Regions from separate parts of the Homo sapiens genome. Here regions 2, 3 and 4 are each linked to region 1. Evidence: promoter capture Hi-C in 16 types of primary human blood cells and fetal thymus (Javierre and others, 2016). All regions are on one chromosome and are shown on one strand. The core of a region is centred on a gene start or on the middle of the fragment in contact, and the rest is flanking DNA. Distances in the headings are between cores, read along the strand shown.

Region 1 (3,841 bases), core at 922-3,421:
GTAGAGATGGGGTTTCACCATGTTGGCCAGGCTGATCTTAAACTCCCGACCTCAGGCAGTGACCTCTTTTCTGTACACCGAATTCCTTCTTCAGTACAGACAGAGTTACTACTTCATTCTTCTCTCAACATTATAATTGTTTTGCGGTTTCTGGGGAGAATTTATCTTACTTATTTCCTTATCTCAAAGGCCTATGCAGAACAGCTAAATAGGTAACTGATGAGAAATATACTACTAGACAAACTCTAACACTCACTCAACCTAAAGGTCTTAGAAATTTGTTCTGTGACATTTTATTGAAACTACACCCTGCATCCAACCAAAAGTAAGGGCTGAATGACTCCTTTTATCCTAGAGTGCACTAGTCTCTGGGGTATACATGCACTCCTCAATCAGTTCTCAGATGATTCTGCCTCTAAGAGCAGCAGAAACTACAGGTAATCATCTCCGGGCTTACTTGAAGTTGTGTGCTCATTCCAAAATCTGCCTTGCTCACTCAAGAGTCCAGGTATCACTGGCCTTCGAGGTCATTAGGCAGCATCCAGTCTTTGAAGCAAACCATTCCAGGTTTTTGACTCTGCTTTCCTGTCAATGTCAGCTAGAGGAACTCTTCTCCCTGCCTTGGCCCTGGCTGGTCCTGGTTCCACTCTGGCTCATTTGCTTCCACACCTGGCCTATGATACCACATGACTAATTCCTTCCTGTGTGCCTCTGGCCCAGGCTTGCCAAAGGAATGCACTCAGAGCAGCTCTACCTATTCCTGTCCATCAGTTGCTGGTTGCGCACTGGCACTGCACATACCTGCTCCACAGAATCTTAAACCTTCAGGACTCTACCTGCTCACAGGTCCTGGGTTCCTACAGGCGTTCTTCATCAAGGGTGGGGCCACAGCTTTGCCCCAAGAGGGCAACCTGCCTCCTTGTTCCTGTACTGGCTTGAGACTCCTAGGCTGTGTCTGAACTAGCTGATAGGCCAGAAGCTTTAGGATGAAAAGAATACTGGAGGAGTCCTCAAAGTTAGAACTTTTATTGGTGTCTGTGTCCCCTCACTCATCTTAGCTATCTTGACCCTTCCCTACTTACCTTAATGATTTCGTGATTTCAATGAAAAAGACGCAACCTAGATAAGATTGCAAGGTCCCATACCTTCCTGGGGGCAGAGTTGACCTCAGACAGGGTCTTGCTTTGTTGCCCAGGCTGGAATGCAGTGGCGTGATCTCAGCTCACAGCAGCCTCAAACTCTCGGGCTCAAGCAATCCTCCCACCTCAGCTTCCCATATAGCTTGGGCTACAGGCGTGCACCACCATGCCCAGCTGATTTTTAAATTTTTTGTAGAGACAAGTTCTCCCTCTGTTGCCCCAGCTGGTTTCGAACTCCTGGGCTCAAGCGATCCTTGCTCTTTGGCCTCCCAAAGTGTTGGGATTACAGGTGTGAGCCACTGTGCCCAGCCCGACCTTTTGTTAATACTCCCATCTAATTGTCCAAACGGACTTGAACAAAAGAATCTTCTTCCCAATACTGCCAGGGAGGGCAAAATTCTTCAAATTCATGTTTGAGGCCATAAACGAACAGGAGTAAAATGGAATCCGCAGGAAGCAATGACAAGAAACCCAAAAACATTCATTTCCCTCCAGCCCAAGTGGCAGATGGGATCTCAAATACACCACGGTGTGATGCGTGACAGGAGGCATCCACTGGGGATGTGGAGCATTTTAAGTGCCCTGCAGAGGGTGGGCCTGGGTCACCCCCCCCCCCACCGCGACACCCCTCCCCAGGCAACATTCCTGGGGAGTCTGGACCTCCCTTGGTGGACCGACACCCGAGGGTCTCTAGGGTTTTTCACCCCATATCGGGGTGAACTGAAGGCATGGGAAGAGGCAGCCCCACAGCCTGGGTCCCCAAAACCCCCTCCGGGCTGAGAGCAAGAGATGCCGCCTGGAGGCCACTCACCAAGCAGCTCCGCTGGCTCAGCAATGGGGGTCGTCCGGGTCTGGGTCATTGCCACTGGCTCGTCCCTCCTCCCACCCTTGCTTCCTGGACTCAAGAGCTGCTGGGCTCTCTGCGCGCCGGCAGTGGGCTCCGCAGGCTGTCTCCTACACAGAGCAGGCGGGAGGAGGGCTCTGGGTTGCTTCCCGCGCCGCAGCCGCGCGCTTCCGGCGGGGTCGCCGCCACTTCCGCTCGAGCGCGCCTCGCGCGGCCGCGGCGCGAGCCGGGACCCCTGGAAGGGTCGGGTGCGCGGCCCAGGAGGTACCGCTGTCTCCTCACAATCGGCCAGGCCTGCAGCCGCTGCCGCCGCTGCCGCCGCCGCCGCCGCCGCCGCCGCCGCCCTACTCAGGGAGTGGCCCAGGCCTGCGGCGCGCCACCCTCACCTCCTTCATTCCTACCGTCAAAGCCCAGCCTTGGCTACCTGACCCCCCTGTGGTCTCGAACTCGGTTAGTCCGGTGAAGGGACAGAGAAGCCTGGGTTCCCGGCGGCATCACTGAGATGCTCAGTCCTGAATTCTGCCCTCCATTAGGATTATCTGCTTTGTGGGATAATTTCCTCATTGGTTGAGTCAGTGAGTTGCGTGTCTGCAAGAGAGCATCCTATCTGGTGGGTCTTCATCTAGATCTTGCACATTTCTTACTAAGTTCATCCTAAGAATATCTTACAGATAAGGAAAGTGAGCTGCAAAGAAGTGTAAAAACAGGGGAAACAGGAGATAGCAGTATAAAGAGAAAAATTAAAACAGATCGTGTGACTTTCCTCTATTGTTAATTGATTTGGGGACATTTTAAACTTATAGAAAGAAAAGAAACACGGGTTTTGTTGACACATCTCAAAACAAAATGGGTGTAACACCTTTAAAATGTAAACTATTGTGCTGGATATGTTTGTATTATTTTGAAGTCATTTAAAGTAATCGCATGAGGTGTTGCCTGCTGTTGGACCAGTAGTTTCTTTTTAGTATTCAAGCAAAGGCATAGTGAGGAAATAGTAAGAAAAAAAGAAGGAATGCTGTAACAGGAAACAAGGGAAAGGAGGAGCAGAGGAAAAGGGCAGGAAAGGTTTAACATTTACGTAGCACTTGCTATGCACCAGACACTTTTAAGCTCTTTAAATGTATTAACTCCTCTAGTTCTCACCACAGCCCTATGAAATGGGTATACTATTATCACCTCTGGTTTACAAAGAAGGCAAGTGAGGTCAAGAGAGGTTAAGCAACTGGCCCAAGGTTACACCGTAAGTGGCAAAACCTTTGCTTGAGCACATCAATTTGGCCCTAGAGTCTATGCTTTTTTTTTTTTGAGAAGGGCCTCTTTCCTGCTGCCTAGGCTGGAGGGCTGTGGCACCATCATGGCTCACTGCAGCTCCAACCTGCCGGGCTCAATGAATTCTCTCACCTCAGCCTCCTGAGTAGCTGAGACCGCAGGCACATACCACCTTGCCCAGCTAGGCTTTTTTTTTTTTTTTTGAGATGGAGTCTTGCTCTGTCACCCAGGCTGGAGTGCAGTGGTGCGATCTTGGCTCACTGCAACCTCTATCTCCCGGGTTCAAGTGATTCTCCTGCCTCAGCCTCCCGAGTAGCTGGGATTACAGGTGCCTGCCACCATGCCCAGCTAATTTTTGTATTTTTAGCAGAGACGGGGTTTCACCACCTTGGCCAGGCTGGTTTCAAACTCCTGACCTCATGATCCACCCGCCTTGGCCTCCCAAAGTGCTGGGATTACAGGCGTGAGCCACCACTCCCAGCCTATTTTTTTTTTTGGTATTTTTTTTATAGTGACAGGGTTTCACCATATTGCCCAGGCGGGTCTCAAATTCCTGGGCTCAAGGGGTCCGCCCGCCTCGACCTCCCAA
Region 2 (3,841 bases), core at 902-3,401, 710 kb after region 1:
GTGGTCAATCACACTATGATTAATTCAATCAGGAAACTTGAATGCCTTCTATGAATATCCATGACCAAAGAATGGGCCTCTGGAGGGCTGCTTGCCGACTGAAGAGAGGGAGAAAGGACACACCTGCCTAGCCAGTAAAACAACAGAATCAACTCTAGAAATCAGTGTAGTGGTAGATGACCCACTAAAATCACCTTTCTGGCCACGAACCAGCATCATGAGTTAAGAGGTAGGCAGTGTTTATAACCCAGAACGGGAAAGTTCTCTTAAAGGACTCTTGCACGACCAAAGCCAATTAAAGAGGTCTAGGGGGGGCACTGTTGTCATGGGTAGTGAATTACCAAATATTTCAGTCCAGGCATGCAGAAAACCTTACAATGTAGAGTTGTGATCCAGACCTAGACTTTGGGGTGAGGCAGCCTGCAGTAGAATCCCTGCACTGCCAATTCTCAGCTGCGTTCCTTAGCAAGTTACTTAACCTTTCTGGGCTTCAGTTTTTTCCATATAAAAATAGAGATATTAATAATATCTTCTTCCCAGGGTTGTTGTGAAACTACTATCAAAGCACTCACCACCATGCCTGACACTTAGGAAGTGCTCAATAAAGGTTTTTATTATGCCTCCAGCAAGATAAATTTTTCCTTTGATGATATCTAGTGACTTCATCAGAATAAAGACTTTCTTATACATTTTAGTGTGACATATGCAAAAAGAATCACACAGGAGCTGGAGATATTTTTTAAAGTTATTTTGATCACAGTGTATAAATTCTCATCTTAAGAGTAGTTCAGCTACTATTTTCATGATAATAACAAAGCAGCAGCTAAAGCTAAAGCTATCTTGGGCTATTTCCTCTAAATTTGCCTTCTAACATGGGAAGAATTTTATCTCACAAATTAGCAAATTCTAGCAAAGCCAGAATGTTGGTCATTTCTGATATCATGACTCTTGTGTATCTTTTCTGGCACATCCCAAAACCATCAGATTGATTCCGAGTTCTCAAAATACATATTGTGTTTATTCATTCATTATTCATTCATTCCTTTCATTCTTTGGTGTTCACAGTCTATTCCTATTGCCATGGGGATAACTATTCAATGACAACTACCTTTTTACTTCATTTTAGTCATTTCCGTTGTGTCAGGTTTATTCTGGCTTTGATGATGAATGGAAAGGGAAAAAGAAACTTATTAAATAAAGTGACTTTTTTTTCCGCTCAATTTGCTTTTGCATCTCTTATGTGTGTCTCAAATTTAGCAAGTGAAACATTTGTCCCAATGGATTATCTGAAATGCATCGTTGGCTGTCAGACACATGATTGATTTTAAATATATGCCTGAGTTCTTTCTATTAGACTAAACCCTTAGGACAGCAAAACACTCTTGCTGTAAAAATGCTTTCCTGTCATTGTCAGGTACACCTGTCATCTTTGACTTAACCCTTGTATTGTAAACAAGAAGCTGCTGGCAAGAGATCATAAACAAAACCAATTTCTGTGTCTCTATTTTCCAGAAGTCTCTCCAGGGAAGTTATCTCTCTAAGACATCATTCCATTTCATCCTTTCTTGGTTCTTGGCTCTTTTTATTCCTCTTTCTGCATGCCATATTCACTTTTCCTGTATGCATTTTGAATCAGTCTCTGTGCCTCTCTGGTTACTGTGGCTCAGCAATGAGTCATGGAAACTACTCAAGACTTGTCTCCTTCTATTTATCCTACCAGCCGTATCCTGTTATTTGTCTGCCTTTCAGCTGCCCTTGTGTAACGAGATGCCTTTTTACTTGCCTTCTTCAGTGTTATTCATCTCGTTTAAATTTTCCATCTCTGAGTTGCCAGCCCCCAACACCATTTTAAATTTTAAATATTTTCATTAATTTTTCAAAAAAGTTATAATTTGGCTGAATAACAGTGTCTCTTTGTATTACCAACTATGAAATAGTACAATGTGCAAAATTTAATTAGTTCCAATTAATGTTTTAAACCCAAATGAGCCTATGTTCATTCTCATCTACTTACTGTGGCAGAGGGATACAGCAGAGTATTTGTGCAAAAGCTTTATTCCATTTCTCTTCATGACCTTGCTATTTTTATAATTTTGAAGAGTCCAGTTATATCCAATATGTCGGACTGATTTTCCAATAAGTTACATGTAATGACACTGGAATGTCATCTATGTGCCAGTTCAATTGTGCCACGGGTTGGAAAACTGTGTGCCAAATCCAACCTGACAGCTGTTTCTGTAAATAAGCTTTCATTGCAACATAGCCACACCCACCTATGTATACACTATCTGTGGCTGCTTTCACATGACAAAGGAAGAGTTGAATAGTTGTGACAGAGACTACACGACCTAAAACACCTAAAATATTTGCTTTCTGGCCATTTTAGAAAATGTTTTCCTAGCAGTGGACCACCCGGTAAACCAAGTCTGGTAAATTTCCATGTCAGGTCTTGAGGTAAAGTTTATAGAATGGTTACTAACTGAATATCTCTCCCCTCCAAATATATAAAAATCATCTGTTAACTCATACAAAGACCAGATTATCTTTAGAGATAGTCCAAGGTATTTGCATATAACTAGAGTTGCCAGGTAAAATACAGAGTGCCCGGCCGGGTGTGGTGGCTTACGCCTGTAATCCTAGCACACTGAGAGGCCAAGGAGGGCAGACTGCCTGAGCTCAGAAGTTCGAGACCAGCCTGGGCAACATGGTGAAAACCTGTTTCTACTAAAAATACAAAAATTTAGGTGGGCATGGTGGTGCACACCTGTAGTCCTAGCTACTAGGGAGGCTGAAGCATGAACCTGAGAGGCGGAGGCTGCAGTGAGCCGAGATCATGCCTCTTCACTCCAGTTTGGGCAACAGAGCAAGACTCTGCCTCAAAAAGGAAAAAAAAACGCCGGGCTCGGTGGCTCACACCTGTAATCCCAGCACTTTGGGAGGCCAAGGCTGGCAGATCAGATCACCTGAGGTCGGGAGTTCGAGACCAGCCTGACCAATATGGAGAAGCCCTGCCTTTACTAAAAATAATAATAATAATAATAATAATAATAATTAGCCAGGTGTGGTGGCACATGCCTATAATCCCAGCTACTCAGGAGGCTAAGGCAGGAGAATTGCATGAACCCAGGAGGCGGAGGTTGCTGTGAGCCAAGATCATGCCATTGCACTCCAGCCTAGGCAACAAGAGCAAAACTCCATCTCAGTAAAACAAAAAACAAACAAACAAACAAAAAGCACAAAACACAGAATGCCCAGTTATGACTAAAATTCAGATAAATGACAAAGAATTTTCTAGTATAACTGTGTCCCACATATTACATGGGACATACTTATACTAAAAAATTCTTTATTTATCTGAAATTCAAATGTTATGGGCATCTTGCTCTTTTATTTGCTAAATCCAGCAACTTTGCATATAAAGGAATGAAAAGAAGAAAACCTGAAGAGAAATTGAAGCAACATCTACAGGGCACTGTGTGAAGTTTTTAGTTTATTAGCACCTTTGAGAATATTATCTGATAATATTCCAGAATTCTGCCATTGATATTCATGTTTTGAATCAATAATAGGAGACTTCAGTCTTTATACCCAGGTGTTTTGTGTACACAGGTGGTCTGCTTTCCAACGTAGGAATGCATGCTATTTACTAACGGCTTGAATTTTCCAATCGTATCTCAGGTTGCAGGGGGAAGAGGACTTTTCAGTACAAGATAAAGGGGAATTACACAGTAGAATTTTATAGGTTTGAGTTAGTCACAGGATGAGGGCAAATATAGAAAGTTTACAAAAATGAGTGATGGGGGAATTGGCAAGAGTCCACTTGTTCTGATACTGCTCTATC
Region 3 (3,841 bases), core at 520-3,019, 650 kb after region 1:
GAATTTTACAAAGATTCTCTTGAGGATATCTTCAGGATGACTTATATGGGATATATGGGAAAATTTGGAATAGCTAGAACTTCCTCGACCTCCCTGGTAATCTGCATTATTTCTCATGATTTGGTTGGGAGTACCTTGATGACACTTCTATCAGGGAGGTACTAGGACAGCAAGGTTTGTGGTCACTATAAAGCCCTTGAACTGAGATTTTGGATCTTTGTTATAGGTCTTTCTGTTAGAAAACAGCCTTGAACTCTCATTACATTTTTCATATGGTTATATTATGGGATCACATTTACTCAGAATAATGGTGTTTCTATTCCAAATTAATCTTCCAGAGTTTGGATACTTTTTATTTTTTATTTTTTATTTTAGAGACAGGGTCTCAGGGTCTCACTCTGTTGCACAATTTGGAGTGCAGTGCTGTGATCATAGCTCACTGCAGCCTTGAACTCCTGGTCTCAAGCAATCTTCCCACCTCAGCCTCCTGAGTAGCTGGGACTACAGTGTCAAGCCACCACATCTAGCTTTTTTTTTTTCCTTCATTTTTTGTAGAATCGGCATCTCACTATGTTGCCCAGGCTTGTCTTGAACTCCTCCTCCCTTGGCCTCCCAAAATTCTGGGATTACAGGTGTGAGCCATGGCACCTGGCAGAGTTTGAATATTTTAAAGCCAAGAGCATGCATGTATGTGTAGTTTAGTGAGTGCATATATAAACACATATATATGTATTAATATAATTGCAATCTAAGCTTTAAAATATTGCCCACTAAAGCATACAAACTGCCATGAATCTACTCATGCAGTACAAGGGAAGACTATGAGTACAGCCAGAACCTCAATTCTGGAAAATATACTAAAGTCATCTCTATGCTTAAGGCTTTATCTCTGCCGCCTAACAGTACACTATCATGGGATATACTCATTTTTGTTTCAGTCATCTCTCAGGAATTGAAGTCTTGACCCATATCTTAAAATGGTGACTAGGGTCCTGTTACAGGTTTACCTACTTCCACAATGTCAATTGCCTGCCTGCCTACCTACTGAACCTCTGGATGTCATCTTGGCTCCAGCATTTCTGTGTTATACACATTGAATAACCTGCTAGTGCATAATTCTACAAAAAAGAATACACTCTTCTGCCTAGCAGACTATTTCCTGCCCACACCTGATGCTGAGGCCATTCTCCCCAGCCCTTGCCTGGACCCCTTGCCTGGGCTGTCAGTGTTCAGTTCTGCAGTGGCTAGCTGGGTCATGACTAATCATGCTTGAGTTTAGACCAAACCCCTATCTCATTCCCTTAATGAGAATTGTTTTAATTTATCCATTCCTCAATCCAACCTACAACTGCTGAGTTCCTACCACCTATGTTAAAACTGTAGAACAAACATTATCCCTACCTAATTCATGCCATAGTTTACTGTATTTTTTCGAAAGATTTAAAATATTTTTAGAGCAGACTTAAATACATAACATGGAATGATAGAAAGATTACCTAAAACTTGACAACCCCAAACCAACTAATATGTTTTATAAACATTTATTCATCTGGAGCTACTTCTTTACAACAGCGGTAATTTTGCCCCGCAGATGATATTTGCAATGTCCGGTGGTGTTTCTGGTTGGCTTAGTACATAGTATGGGGGAGGGTGTGGGAAACTGTTGCTACTGGCATCCAGGTTGTAGAGGCCGGGGATGCTGCTAAACATTCTACAACTTACAGGATAGCTCCCCACAAAAAAGGAATTATCCTGCCCAAAACGTCAATATTGCCAAAGTTGAGAAACCCTGCTTTAAACAAACTTTTTAGGTCAGCCTTTGAAGGTATTGAGGTGGGAAGTGTTGCTTGCTGCCATTTGGTGATATTTGTTGGTCTACGTACCATTTATTTCTATATTTAGAATTTTAGTTTTTATAATACACCTGGGGAAATGATGCTAGATGTTCATATGGAAAACATTTTTCCACTTAAAGTAAAATCTTTCAATGTATACAAAACCAGGGAAAGTCAACAGGTAAGTAAGCATGTCAGACTTTGCAATATTCTAGAAGGTTAAAATAATAACAGTATTTTTGTATACCTAAAAATGAACATAACTTCCTGCTTCTACTATAGGATAGAAATGAAAGAGGCAGCAAAAAATCCAGAGAACAAATAAATGGCTAATTGGTTCAGGGTTTTGAGGGCTCTTCTGAGACTTTTTTTCTTGATTGCATTGGAATATAGATGCCTCAAATGACACTATAGGTTTATTATAATTTTATCTAATTCCATATAAATTTATACAAGGGCTCTTTAGATTAAGGTGGTAATAAAATATCAATTAGCAAATTAAAATAACTAGAGTTCATAGATGCCTATTCACCACTTCATTAGAGGCATTTTATGAGAGATTCAAGCATGAACATTTGGTCTGAGTGTCATTTTAATGCAAGTGTTTCCATTGTGGTTTGCTGCATCATATTTGAGAAATGTAATAAAAATACACATTCATAACCTTAGAAGAGCTGTATCAAACTGACATTTTTTTACTTCAGTTAGTAATATACGAATGTACTATATCGTATAGTAATATACGAATGTACTATATCGTATAGTAATATACGAATGTACTATATCATATAGTAATATATGAATGTACTATAGCAGCTAACAATTTTCTTGTATAACAATGGTCTCTGGTTAGAAGGAAATCTGTTAGAATTTGAAGATAATAAAAGGCCAGAAGTGGCTTAATGAATTTTCTTATTGAATAAATTTACCTCTCTTTTGGAAAAGCTTGTTTTTAATCTGCTAAATCAAAAATAGGTTTTCCATAGGTAGTATTTATTTTTTATGTATATACATATTCATATTCAATTTGGTTGTAAGCTCATGGGTACATAAATCCTCAAAACATTGCATTTATTTCCATCTTCACTGATCTACTGGGGTCCTTAAGTTTCTTTGTTCTGGAAAAGAAAGTCATTCCTTTAAGAAAAATAACGCTACTCTTCAAGTTTGAATTATGAAAGTACTCCTATTTCCTTAATACTCCTGGAACGATGTTCTAATTTTTTGTCTTAAAAAATGATTAAACTTGTGCAAAATTGTTTTCTGTTTTGAATTATACTGACAAAATCAGAGATTTTACACGGATTAACCTAAATCCCAATAACCCTATTTAACATACAAGTAAATCTGGATGCAGTGTTTAGTCTCTCAGTTCCCCAGTTTTCTCATTTTCAAAATGAGAGACAATAATGTGTTATGGTATAATAGATGCCAGTGCCTTGCACTTATTAGTTGCTCTGTAAATGTTAAATAACACTTATGGATGGCTTCCAGCTTTGTTATGGAGAAAACAAGAAAAGTATTAGGAGAAAAAATTAAGAGTCACAACATATTGGAATGTTTATTTATTTTAAGATATCTTCTTGTAAAGGAACATAACTGGCAAATCCAACATCACTCAGACTATGAGTTATCATGTTTTTAGTAGTTCCGAAGCTAAGTTATATTAAAGTAAATATACAGAAACATACATGTACATGAATCTGAATAAACTCAGCCTCCCTCTCCCATTCTATTTTTTTTTAAACTTTTTGTTCTGATTTTCTCCATCACACAACCCTCATATATTTAACAGAGCTGTTGAATTTTAGAGTTTGAATGGAGTTTAAATTTCTTTCAACCAATGCAGAAATTCTAAAATAGTTCCAAGTTTTAAATTTTAACTCTTGATGGAAAAAAAAAGTCAATATACACTCTCCTACATGCTTTTCTGAAGAACTGCATTTAATCCTGCCACAACTATATGACATGGGCATTACTACTCTCCCCATTTTTAAGATGTGGAG
Region 4 (3,841 bases), core at 868-3,367, 630 kb after region 1:
GAGTTCGAGACCAGCCTGGTCAACATAACAAAACCCCATCTCTACTAAAAATACAAAAATATTAGCCAGGCGTGGTGGCGGGAGCCTATAATCCCAGCTACTCGGGAGGCTGAGGCAGGAGAATTGCTTGAACCTGGGAGGTGGAGGTTGCAGTGAGCCGAAATCACACCACTGCACTCCAGCCTGGGCAACAGAGTGACTCTCTGTCTCTAAAACAAACAAACAAACAAAAGCAAACAAACAAAACCAAAAGAATGAAAACCTGGGCATAATGCCCTATATAGGATACAAAAAAAGAGGGTACTTTGGTTTCTTTACATACACAAACTATTTGCAAAGAATTAGATAAAAACCAAATTAGAATACAATGTAATAATGTAATTAAGGAATAAAATACATAATCCAAATAATAAAGGCTATGGGAGGTGCATAATGATAAGAAAATAAGCTAGCACGTCAGAAAAATATTTAAAGAAAAATTAGAACTTAAGCTGGTTAGAATGTGAAGGCAGAGAAACAAACATGCTTAGTACAAAGTTAAAAGTAATTCCTTGATTCTAGGTAATAAGGCATTTTAACTATAATTCATTTATTCAACAAACATTTATTGTGCATACACTATTTTGCTGAGAGCTATACTAGACCCCAAAGTAGTTTTTATAATTACTCTACCCATCTGATATGAGGAGCCCTGGGCCCACACGTACCATCCACAATCAAGATTATAGCAGCCTAAGCTCTTTAGTTTAATTAGGTCCCACTTGTCAATTCTTGGTTTTGCTTCAGTTGCTTTTGGGGACTTAGTCAAAAATTCTTTGCCAAGGCTGATGTTGAGAAAACTATTTCTTAGGTTCTCTTCTAGGATTTTTCTAGTTTGAGGTCTTATATTTAAATCTTTAATCCATCTTGAGATAATTTTTGTATATGGTGAAAGGTAGGGGTCCAGTTTAATTCTTCTGCATATGGCTAGCCAGTTATCCCAGCACCATTTATTGAACTGGGGAGCCCTCTCCCCATTACTTGTTTTTGTTGGCCTTATTGAAGATCAGATCGTAAGTGTGCCACTTTATTTCTGAATTTTCTATTCTGTTCCATTGATCTATGTGTCTGTTTTTGTATGAGTACCACACTGTTTTGTTTGGTATAGCCTTATAGTTTGAAGTCAGATAGTGATGCCTCCAGCTTTGTTCTTTTTGCTTAGGATTGCTTTGGCTATTCGGGTTCTTTTTTGGTTCCATATGAATGTTAGAATAGTTTTATCTAATTCTGTGAAGAATGGCATTGTAGTTTGACAGGAATAACATTGAATCTGTAAATTGCTTTGGGCAGTGTGGCCATGTTAACAATATTGATTCTTCCAATCCATGAGCATGGAATGTTTTTCCATTTATTTGTGTCGTCTCCGATTTATAAACAGACAACTTACAAAATGGGAGAAAATATTCACAATCTATGCATCTGACAAAGCTCTAATATCCGAAGTCTATGAACTTAAACAAATCAACAAGCAAAAAACAACCCCATTAAAAAGTGGGCAAAGAACATGAACAGACACTTCTCAAAAGAAGACATACGAGTGGCCCCCAAGCATATGAAAAAATGCTCATCATCACTAATCCTCAGAGAAGTTCAAATCAAAACCACAATGAGATACCACCTCATACCATCAGAATGATTATTATTAAAAAGCCAAAAAACAACAGATGCTGGTGAGACTGCAGAGAAAAGGGACCACCTATACACTGTTAGTGGGAATGTAAATTAGTTGAGTCACTGTGGAAAGCAATTTGGAGATTTCTCAAATAAATTAAAACAGAACTACCATTTCACCCAGCAATCCCATTACTGGGTATATACCCAAAGGAAATAGATCATCATACCAAAAAGACACACACACTCATATGTTCATTGCCATGCTACTCACAATAGCAAGGACATGGAATCAACCTAGGTGCCCATCAATGGTGGTTTGGATAAAAAAAAAAAATGGTACATATACACCATAGAATTCTATGCAGCCATAAAAAAGAATGAAATCATGTCCTTTGCCGCAACATGGATGTAGCTGGAAGCGATAATCCTAAGTGAATTAATGTAAGAAAAGAAAACCAAGTACCACATATTCTCACTTAGAAGTGTGAAGATAAATACTAAGCACATAAAGATGTAAACATGGGAACAATATACACTTGGGACTACTAGAAGCGGGAGGAAGAGAAGAGCCATGGGTTGAAAAACTAACAATTGGGTACTATGCTCACTACCTGGATGCAATATACCCATGTAACAAACCTGCACAAGTACCCCCGTCTCTAAAATAAAAGTTGATTTTTTAAAAAAAGAAAAAAAAACTGGCCAGGCGCGGTGGCTCACGCCTGTAATCCCAGCACTTTGGGAGGCTGAGGCGGGCGGATCACGAGGTCAGGAGATGGAGACCATCCTGGCTAACACGGTGAAACCCCGTCTCTACTAAAAATACAAAAACAAAATTAGCCAGGGGTGGTCGCGGGCGCCTGTAGTCCCTGCTACTTGGGAGGCTGAGGCGGGAGAATGGTGTGAACCCAGGAGGCGGAGCTTGCAGTGAGCGGGGATCGCGCCACCGAACTCCAGCCTGGGCAATAGAGTGAGACTCCGTCTCAAAAAAAAAAAAAAAAAGAAAGAAAGAAAGAAAAAATCTAAAACTCTAACAGGCAAAGTAAAGGAAATAAAATATAGTGGCTAAGCATGTGTGGCTCTCAGCCAACCTGCCTTGGTTCAAAGCCCTGTTCTGCCATTAACTCAGAAGCTGACTTTGGACAGGTTACTAAACCTCCCCCTACTTTGGTATTCTGGTTTGCTGAAAGGAAGATGATAACACTAATATTACTTATTAGGGTTATTCGGAGGAATAAAAGAATTAATGTGCATAAAGAATTTAGAACAATGTCCAGCACATAATCATTAAAATGACTATTATTTGTGATAAAAAAACTTCTTCTCTATAACTTTATTCTCTCTTGATTTTCCTTTTAGCCTTGTATTTCCTTGTAGCTAGTGTCCAATCTCCCTTTTATTCTTGCCAAACTAAGTGAACATATGGCCTAAATATGCTGTTTCCTCTCCTCACTTCTGATTCATTTCTCAGCTAACAGCAATCTGCCTCTGCCCTCACTGCTTCACTGAAGGTTAACACTGATGAGTTTATAACATCACTGAAGAATTCCACATTGCCAGATCCAATGGTAATTTCTGATGGATCTTTATCTTACTAAACCACTCTCTACATTTCAGAATTGGTTACTTTTATTTTTTTTTGAAACTCTCTCAATACCCTTTGTTTCCACAACCCTGACCATCTTTTTGTCTAGTGTTTCCTTATAGCCTCCTGTCTACTCCATTTCATTCCTTGTTTCCTTTGCTTATCAATTAAATGTTGGTATTCTCCAGATTTCCATCCTTGACCTCCTACCCTTTATCTTTATTTGCCTTCCTCGTGATTATAACTCCTGTCTGTATTTTATGTCTTTTAAATCATCATCCAAGAGCTGCTGTACATTTATAGTTGGAATTCCCACAGGCACCAAAAGCTCAGCATTTCCAAAGCTAAACTCATTTTATCACCCCTGCAATTCGCCAACCTGTTGTTCCACCTCTATTGATTTCAGTTAATAGCACCACTATTTACCCAAGCACCCAATCCAATAATCTGGAAATAACAAATCTGTATCTCTTAATCTTCCACATTCAATCATTCACTAATACATTTCAACTCTATTGTCACACCTTTCCCCCATCCTTCCTACCACTGCCCCAGTCTAAGTCCTAATTATCTCTTGCTTAAGTTGGAACAACAGTTTTAAAA

The links. Contacts are between HindIII fragments. The CHiCAGO score rates a contact against its expected background, and 5 or more counts as called.
Region 2: a contact is called between a fragment that was not itself captured here and the fragment with the promoter of KHDC1 in region 1, in 2 of 17 cell types (erythroblasts and naive CD4 T cells). The highest score is 7.4, in erythroblasts.
Region 3: a contact is called between a fragment that was not itself captured here and the fragment with the promoter of KHDC1 in region 1, in 1 of 17 cell types (total CD8 T cells). The highest score is 5.2, in total CD8 T cells.
Region 4: a contact is called between a fragment that was not itself captured here and the fragment with the promoter of KHDC1 in region 1, in 2 of 17 cell types (naive CD8 T cells and fetal thymus). The highest score is 6.2, in naive CD8 T cells.

What each region holds. Positions count from the first base shown.
Region 1 is chr6:73,261,526-73,265,366 of GRCh38, reverse strand. KHDC1 (KH domain containing 1) reads left to right here and starts at 2,171. Exons shown (of 4, transcript NM_030568.5): 1 at 2,171-2,593. The region is part of intron 2 of LOC122539213 (KHDC1-KHDC1L); the gene reads left to right. It also overlaps the pseudogene KHDC1-AS1. RefSeq lists a silencer at 2,058-2,327. The HindIII fragment of the contact is 4,328 bases long and covers 982-3,841 here.
Region 2 is chr6:72,551,531-72,555,371 of GRCh38, reverse strand. No RefSeq gene overlaps it. Among named protein-coding and RNA genes, the nearest start is that of KCNQ5, 69 kb to the left of the region's middle. The HindIII fragment of the contact is 195 bases long and covers 2,054-2,248 here.
Region 3 is chr6:72,608,017-72,611,857 of GRCh38, reverse strand. No RefSeq gene overlaps it. Among named protein-coding and RNA genes, the nearest start is that of KCNQ5, 12 kb to the left of the region's middle. The HindIII fragment of the contact is 2,027 bases long and covers 756-2,782 here.
Region 4 is chr6:72,630,953-72,634,793 of GRCh38, reverse strand. The region is part of intron 1 of KCNQ5 (potassium voltage-gated channel subfamily Q member 5); the gene reads right to left. The region is part of intron 1 of KCNQ5-IT1 (KCNQ5 intronic transcript 1); the gene reads right to left. Among named protein-coding and RNA genes, the nearest start is that of KCNQ5-IT1, 2.4 kb to the right of the region's middle. The HindIII fragment of the contact is 9,254 bases long and covers 1-3,841 here.